Regions from separate parts of the Homo sapiens genome. Here region 2 is linked to region 1. Evidence: promoter capture Hi-C in 16 types of primary human blood cells and fetal thymus (Javierre and others, 2016). All regions are on one chromosome and are shown on one strand. The core of a region is centred on a gene start or on the middle of the fragment in contact, and the rest is flanking DNA. Distances in the headings are between cores, read along the strand shown.

Region 1 (3,970 bases), core at 33-2,532:
GTGAGAGCAGCGAGTGAGACAGGCAGTGTGTACACATGTGTGAGTGACAATGTGGAACAGAGAAGGAGAGTATGCCTTTTAAAAACAGTGAGAGACAATCTGAATGTGGAAGTGGTTCTTACAGCATGGAAGTGCCAGTGCATGTGAGGATGTGAGAGTATGTGAGTTAGTATGTTTATGGAAATAAGATTTATGAGGGTGAGTAAATGGTACTGGAGGGGAACAGTGACCATGCCTGTGTGTGCCACAGGGGTGGGAAACGGTATGGGGAGAGGGATGAGAAATGGGAGTCAAAAGAGGGAAGACAGGGCACAGGATAGGGACATTAAGGAGGAATAAAAAAAATAGACAAAAAGAAAAAAGGGTAAAAGAGAGGAGGAAAGGGGATTAAATGTGAGGAACAGAAATTAGAGTCGTGGAGATAAAAATGAGAAAATATGAGAAGAAATTTTAAAAAGGAGGGAAAAAACAGAAAATAGAAAAGGTATGAAAAGAGATATTGGAGGGAAAAAGAGTTACAAGGAGGTGGGGAAAATGGTATAAGAGAATGAGGAAGGAGAAAAGAAAGAAAACAGAAAGCGGTAAAAGGAAAGAAAGATAAAGAGCAAGAAATCGAGCCTAAGTGTCCAAGTGAGAGGGAAAATAAATGGGAGCAGAGAACAGCAGTTTGAAAGAGTCGCTTATGCTGGAGTAAAATAGAAACAAACCTGATAAACTTGTCAGACTCTCCAGGAGTACCCCATGACAGTAAAACAGAGACCTTGTGCATTGAGTTTCAAAGTGGCACCTGCCCCTCCTTCTAAACCTGACAGTTCACTCATCCCCAGGCTACTTGGCGTTCCGGCAAAGTGCTTTAGCATCACGAGTCCAGCTTGCTACCTGCCCCAGCATAAACGGGCCGGGGCTCCGGGAAGAATCTGCACCTGGAATTCTTGGGATGTGGTCTTTCCATGATGAGCACCACCAGCATTATTGCTTGTGTTATAAAGAAGGCAAAGAGGGTTCAAAGAGAGACAGAAAGATAGACCGAAACAAGTACGAAAAGCACGCCGTTCTTCCTACCTAAGCACCGCCGTGTCCCCTTTTCTGACCATCATGTTGTCCACGGCCGCCCAGGGGAAGTCCACACTCTGTCCAGCCGGGAGGCAGGAGGGTAGCAGGCAGCACAGGCTGAGGAGCACCGCCGCCAGCCACTGGTTCGAGCAACAAGCACCCTGCACCAACAGCATCATGTCCATCCCTGCTAGGGCTGCTCACTCTCCAGCAGCTTTCAGCTCGCACTCCCCCACCCCCTGGTGCTGGCGAGTCTTCCCGGGAACCAGGCGGCGCGCCACAGGATTTTTTTTTTTTTTTTTTTTTTTTTTTTTTTTTGGTGGGTGGGTGGGTTTCTTTTCTTTCTTTCTTCCCCCCACCCCAGTTGTTGGGTGTTGTTTCTCTCTTTTTGTTTTTCGGTGTTTTTGCCTCCCCTCCTCCTCTTCGCTTTCCCTCCCTCCCTCCCCTCCCTCCCCCTGGCACCACACTACACCTCCTCTCGGTTGCTTTTGGCCGCGTCCGGAGTGTGTCTAATTCTCGGGCGGCTCGCACACCATCTAGCGAGGAGGCGAGCGCGCCGGCGAGTGAGGGAGGAGGCGCGGCGGCGGGGGAGGAGGCAGGGCGAGCGGCGGCGGCGGCGGCTGCAATCCCAGCAGCAGCAGCAGCAACAGCAACAGCAGCAGCAGAAGCAGCGCGGAGCGCTGCGCCGGCCGCCGGCTCCCGGGCTCGCGCGCGTTGCCAAGCGGCCGTTTCCTTAGCAACCCCGCCAGGGGACTGGGGATGGAGAAGGGAGGGGGATTAAAAAAATAATAAAAAAAGAAAGAAAAAAGATAGCAAGAAAAAAAAAAGAAAAGCAAGACAACGAAAAAAAAAATAGGAGGAACTGTATCACAATTATGCAAACTAAGGGGGAAAGAGAGGCACCTTAGAATGAAGGCTCTCCTTACTGTCGTAAGCGCTAGAGGGATTCTTTGCTAGAAAAGTCTCCGTGTCAGGGCTGGGGTGAAGAGAGCTGAGGGGCGCTTTGCCTTCCCTCACCGGTGCGTTTTACCTCTCGAGGCACCGTAAGTTTGAAGTCCTCCAAGTTGTGGTCGGCGCCATCATGACGCCGGCGACTGTGAGTTGTTTTTTTGTTTATTTTCTTCTAATCTTGCCTGGGTGGCTACGCTGCAGTTAGCGAGCAGCCAACTAGTTCTCTCTGCGTTTTCTCGGGAATAGGTAGGGACGGTGGCGGGGCGCTGCTTTTTTGCGGGGACACGAGGAGGTGCAAGGCCTTGCGGCAGAGCAGCTTGCGTGTTTGTGGCGGTCGGCCCGTATGGATTGCAGGACGCCCCTCTTTTATCTGTGGGTGTTGACACTAAGTTGTGTGTGTGAGTAGGGGATTGTTTATGGTCAACATGGAGTGTGTGTGTGATAGAGAGCGTGTCGTGCGCGCGGGGGCCTGTGCACGCGCGGCACGCAGGCGCGCTGGGAGGGACGGGGCGGGTCATGCTGGGATGTAGAGTCGGGAAAAGACTGCAATCAAGTGTTTTAATTGTGTAGAGCCCAGGCGGTCCAGTTATGTAAGAGGCAGTTTAACCCATTTGAGCCTATCAGGCCGAATAATCGGCGCATCCGAGTCAAGGCAGGGCAGAGTTAAGGGGTTTAACGAGTCGCAGGGTTGTATTTCTTAACAGCCTCCACACCGCGTTAACAGGCTTGCTCCTCCGCGGTGCAGAGCGGTAACCTCCGCTTCCCCACGCAGCAGCCCCTCCGCAGCTCGCCGGGCTGTTTTCAGCCCTGCCCTGGCCCAAGGCAGAAGGAGATACTAGGCGTGGGGCCACCCCTACTCTTTTTTCTTCTTTCCTTCTTGAACTCATTTCCAGATTCAAGATCCTTAAGCTTTTCCGGGCCATTTGCAAATCAATGCGAGAACCGAGGCTGAGTCGTTAGCAGTTACACCAATCAATCTTGTTCAGCGAGGAGTTTGGGAAGCAGAGCGGGGAAGTGAAAATGGAAAATAAGTAATTAAAAAATAAGCTCCCTCCCCCTCACACACTTTTTCCCTTCCTCCACCCCATCCCCCTTTAGCAGTGTTTGAAGAAGATATTCTTTGCCAGATCCCAGTTCTTCTTTTGGAGGAAATGAAGCAAAACCTCACACGTCCGTAACTCGTTTTCCATAATGCTAGCAGGGTCATTTGGCAAAGCGCACCGAAGCAAGACTCTCTGCAGGGGTCAGCATCCGGCTGCCTCCGCAGACTGAGCTCTTTACGAGGCAGGCAGGGAGTCGTTTTGCTTGGTGGTAGCAGTGTTCAGAGTGATTTTTATCGCCATGCACGGGGATATATGGGGAAAGGGAAGGGTTCCCATCACCTGTGACCACCCAGACTGGCTTACAGACGAATCCTTAACTAGCAACACCTCCCTGCTGAACTGGCACTCCAAGGCTGGGCAGCTAACGGAGACATTTGCGTCAGGAGTCACTGATGTTAGTATTCTGCCTTAACTCTCAAAACCGACTCGGAAACTGAGAGTGCAATAGTTTCAACCGCATTTTGAAACATCAATAAAATGTTAGTCATTTGCGGATGAATGAAAACATTTTCTTTACCGTCTGGTATGCTAGGGAAATAATTGTGAAATGACAGACTCTCACTAATATCGATGCCAAATACCTAAGTAACACTGTCATCTTGTTAACTGCATTTTTCTATCTTGCGTGGCACGCTGATGGATAAAGCGTAAAATTATCTAGGGCAAACGGGGGATTAGAAGACTTGACATGTCACATACATGGGCAAAGCTATGCAGTATTATTTAGCATTTCAGTAGAAACGAGCTAGATTCTATTGAAGAGACACAGAAGGTATAGCTTCCTGCATTGTGACTCAGTTTAGTGCTATTTTAAGCAGGGATGGGGGTGCCAGTGTTTTCTAGTACAAGCTATGAAAAGCATC
Region 2 (3,929 bases), core at 1,386-3,885, 1.9 Mb after region 1:
CAATAAAGTTGCTTTAAAAAATCTATCTCATTCTTCCTTATGGCAGCTCTTCAGATACTCTCTACTCTCCTCCTGGAAATAAAAAGCCCAAATGCCTCCACAGAATATAATTTTTCAATTTATTATAGTCTAGTATGTTCAACATCTTTTTAAAAATGTGGAATCCAAAACTAAACAGATTATTTCCTGTGTGTTTGATTTGTGCAGAATTAATGGGCTTACAGCTTGGCTGGATTGATATATTTTACTCTGGTAAAATGACATTCTGATAAATACCTGGAAAAACTCTGTGGCGAATTCTCTAGTATAATAATACTCTGGTAGCTTAAGATGTTAAACAGTCATATCACACTGTTTTATTATAGTGAATATGAACTTAAATAAAATCCCTAAACTTTTTTTGCCTCCAACAATCAACTGCCACGGAAATTTACTCCTACTCATATATATAGTATTTTTTAATTTTTTTTTTACTAAAAATTAATATTAATGAAAATTTGAGAAAAGAAAGAAAACAGAAGCCATAGCTGATAATATGGTATATTTATTTCCAGCAAATTTTGATTGCATGATATAGTCATATTGAGAAAAAATAATATCCAATTTCTATGGCCATCCTTCCCAGATCCAAGAAATACTCTAATATTCTGTATGATACCGTCCTAGATCCAATAAATACTCTATTTAATATTCTGTATGATAGAATCTAACACATCACTCTGTTTGTCTCCTCACAATTGTTACCACTGGATTTTTTATTTGGTTACTTCTTCCTTCTTTATTTCACCTTATTAGAATATACAGACCCCAAACATATAGGCTCTGCTGACCTTCACTCCCTTGGGACCTCACTTAGTTCCACAGTTAAAATTAATTCTATCTTCTTGCTGACAATTCCCAAAATTGTATCTCTAGCCCAGACCTCTCTCCTGAATTCTAGACTCGTATGTATAATGCATACAGACACATACACACACAAACTTCCATTACATATTCACTGCATACACATGTCTCTTTATTCCACATGTCCAAAATCAAATTCTGGACCCTATTACCCCAAAAACCTTCCTCAGTCGGAAACTTACCCATCTTAATTGATGGCCAATCCATCCCAAGGCAGTCATTTTGACTCCTCTTTTTCTCTTACAGTCCACACCCATTAATTCCATCAGCACATTTTATTGTTTTTGTCTTAAAAATATATCCAGAATCTGACCAACTTCTCACCATTCCCACTGCTACCATCCTGGTCAAGCCTTCACCAGCTCTCACCTGCAATATTGCAGTAACCTCCAAAGAAGTCTCCCTGCTTCTATCATTGCCTCATCCCCCATTATAATCTATTCTCCTATCTCCGAGTGATCTCTTTAAACATAAGCCAAGTCACTTCAAAACCCTGCAATGGCTTTGTTTCCCTCAAGAGTAAAAACCAAAATTCTTCCTATGGCCCTTTGTTCTCTCTCTGACCTTCTCTCGCTACTTTCTCCTTTGGTTACTTTCACTCAAGTCTCTGTATTTTCTAAATGTTCTTCAATAAGATACTGTTTTTTTAATTAATGAAGTTTTAAATGTAAAACTATGAAAGAGTAATCTAATCTGCCATTTTATCCAAATGTTTCCACTATTAGAACACGATTGTATAACAAGTCTGAGAAGAAAAACTAAGTAAATTTATGACAAGAGTTTATGGTGCCCTGAATGTCTACGTACCTAATGAAGACGTTGATACAGAGAAATCGTCTCAAAAAATCAAACGGTATGGTGAAATACCACAAGTTCTGGGTTTGGGATTGAAATATATTTCTTAAATCTTTTATTACTTACTAATTGTGATACCTTGACTAACTCACTATTCTCTGATTCAGTTTTCTTCTGTGTAAAGATGAAGTGGTCTGTAAAACCAAGAAACCTCGTGTTCTATAACAGGAACACCTTTATATAGCTACCCAAAAAAACACCTAAAAAGGCTGACTTATTCCTAAGAGTGTTATTGAACATTCTAGATTAATCTGCATATACAAAAGAATGCCAGAGAAGAAACCAAAATACCAAAAATATTTGGAGCCTGGTTGCGGACTGAATTTTATACAACTTTCAAAGACACTATTTGAGAGGCTGTCGTGTGTAGCCTACTAAGAAAAAACAGAGGGGTGGGGTGGCTCACTCTCTAGGAACCACAAACTTAAGGTTCCTAGAAAGAGCAGAGATTTTAAATATTCAGACTGTGTATGTATCATGACCCAGGGTTGGGGGCAGATGGCCCGGGGTGGCGGGGGAAAGGAGAGATGGCGGAGATCTTCTATCAGGCTATCCTGGGGAACTGCTCCAGGCTGAAACAAACCACCAGTTAGGACGAACCGCCTTTGATGTGAAAGCTGGGAAGCTAGAATGTAGTTTCGCCTTATCCTTAGCGGGTCGGTTCTAACAATTTTGTCACCCAAACTGAACCACTCACCGGGTCAACTGGGCTGCAAGCCCTTATGAGTTGGAGACAAGTGGCCCAGCCCCAACACAGTCAGACAAATCGCTGGGCGGCCATCTGCTCCTGAGACCGTTGCTAGAGAAACAAGACAACATCCAAGTTCTCCACATCATGGTTTTCCGGGCGCCAGCCAAGGCGCTCCGGGGGCGTGGTTACGTGGGCGACGCACGGAGGGGGCGGGTCAGAAACAACCGGGCGGAGGCGCACCCCAGGGCGCATGCGTGCTGTGCGGCGCGGTCTCAGGGAAGGTGGGGCTATGGCAGCTGCTAGGGACCCTCCGGAAGTATCGCTGCGAGAAGCCACCCAGCGAAAATTGCGGAGGTTTTCCGAGCTAAGAGGTACCAGAGAAGGCACCGGAGTTCTCCTGGGCAATGCAGAGGGAGGGTGCTTTTACGTGCCAGGAGGTTTGCTGGACTGTCACTTCCCGTTTACTTCTCATCTGTAGGCCTATGACGCTCCCCAGGAGTAGCTAGCTAATAATCCTTTTGAGTTTTTTATTCTTTTCACTGTCCCTGCTTGACATGCTTGTTGCTTACTTTATTCTTAGTAGTATAGATATTAAAAATGAGGGCGGAGGAAGAAGAAGAAAATCTTACTAGTGAAGTTATGCATTGATTAGCTCATTAATAAAAGTTGCTTTAAATAAATCTAAAAGATACGAAGCACAGTATTTTGAACTTTATGAGTAGATGCCAGCCCCCTATCTACTTCACGCTTTACATTACGTTCATCTACTTCTGTAATGTAACCGTTTGTTGAGGGAGTAACAGAACATGGAGGAATTATGGATTAAAAATTAAAAGGAAGAAATTTGTTATCAAAAAATTGGCTATGACACTTAATCCCTGTACACCTGTCTAATAAAAGTGATTATATTTGTGTTGCAGTGACTGCTTAAAAAATACTGGGACTAATTCTTGGATAACAGTAAAACTTTCAGGACTATTAGATTCTAGCTGACAAGTTCTGTTTGTTAACTAATTAAAATGCTAAATCATTTTGTTTATCAATAAAGAGATTCCAACTGTCTACTAAAAGTGCACACTGTCTTTTAAAGATGTCATCAGAGAGTTGGGACCTTCTGTTATCCAGAATTTTATGTTATATTCTAACAGCCTATGTAAGTTTGCATGGTTCATCTTAAAGTAATAGAAAATAAAGTACCCACATTTATAAACAGCAACATTGAGGGAAGGGATCTTTGGGTTGTGTCTTTCTTAGTCACCTAACACCAAGTGTCCGTGATACATAAGAATTGATTTGCAAAGCTGGAGATTTGTTTATGTTTATCTCCTCTTCTTATTGAAGAATTGAGGCAATAGTCTTTGGCAAGTTAAAAGTCGCTCTCTTAATCAAGAAACATTATGTCATTCAGAATTTATAATTAAATTGGATTGCAAACCATAAAAGGAGGGAGTGATCTAAAAGAAAAAAAAGGAACTTGTGA

The links. The method cuts DNA at HindIII sites, captures the fragments that hold promoters and counts their contacts. A CHiCAGO score of 5 or more calls a contact.
Region 2: a contact is called between the fragment with the promoter of LRRIQ3 here and the fragment with the promoter of NEGR1 in region 1, in 2 of 17 cell types (monocytes and fetal thymus). The highest score is 6.1, in monocytes.

What each region holds. Positions count from the first base shown.
Region 1 is chr1:72,281,257-72,285,226 of GRCh38, forward strand. It overlaps NEGR1 (neuronal growth regulator 1), which reads right to left and starts at 1,283. Exons shown (of 7, transcript NM_173808.3): 1 at 1,063-1,283. The coding sequence starts at 1,238. LOC105378797 (a long non-coding RNA gene) reads left to right here and starts at 1,678. Exons shown (of 6, transcript XR_947506.3): 1 at 1,678-2,149. RefSeq lists silencers at 1,470-1,529, 1,630-1,719 and an enhancer at 3,101-3,970. The HindIII fragment of the contact is 3,164 bases long and covers 1-2,911 here.
Region 2 is chr1:74,195,541-74,199,469 of GRCh38, forward strand. It overlaps LRRIQ3 (leucine rich repeats and IQ motif containing 3), which reads right to left and starts at 2,636. Exons shown (of 8, transcript NM_001105659.2): 1 at 2,456-2,636. It overlaps FPGT-TNNI3K (FPGT-TNNI3K readthrough), which reads left to right and starts at 2,702. Exons shown (of 27, transcript NM_001112808.3): 1 at 2,702-2,820. The coding sequence starts at 2,739. It overlaps FPGT (fucose-1-phosphate guanylyltransferase), which reads left to right and starts at 2,702. Exons shown (of 4, transcript NM_003838.5): 1 at 2,702-2,820. The coding sequence starts at 2,739. RefSeq lists a silencer at 2,540-2,639. The HindIII fragment of the contact is 8,918 bases long and covers 1-3,929 here.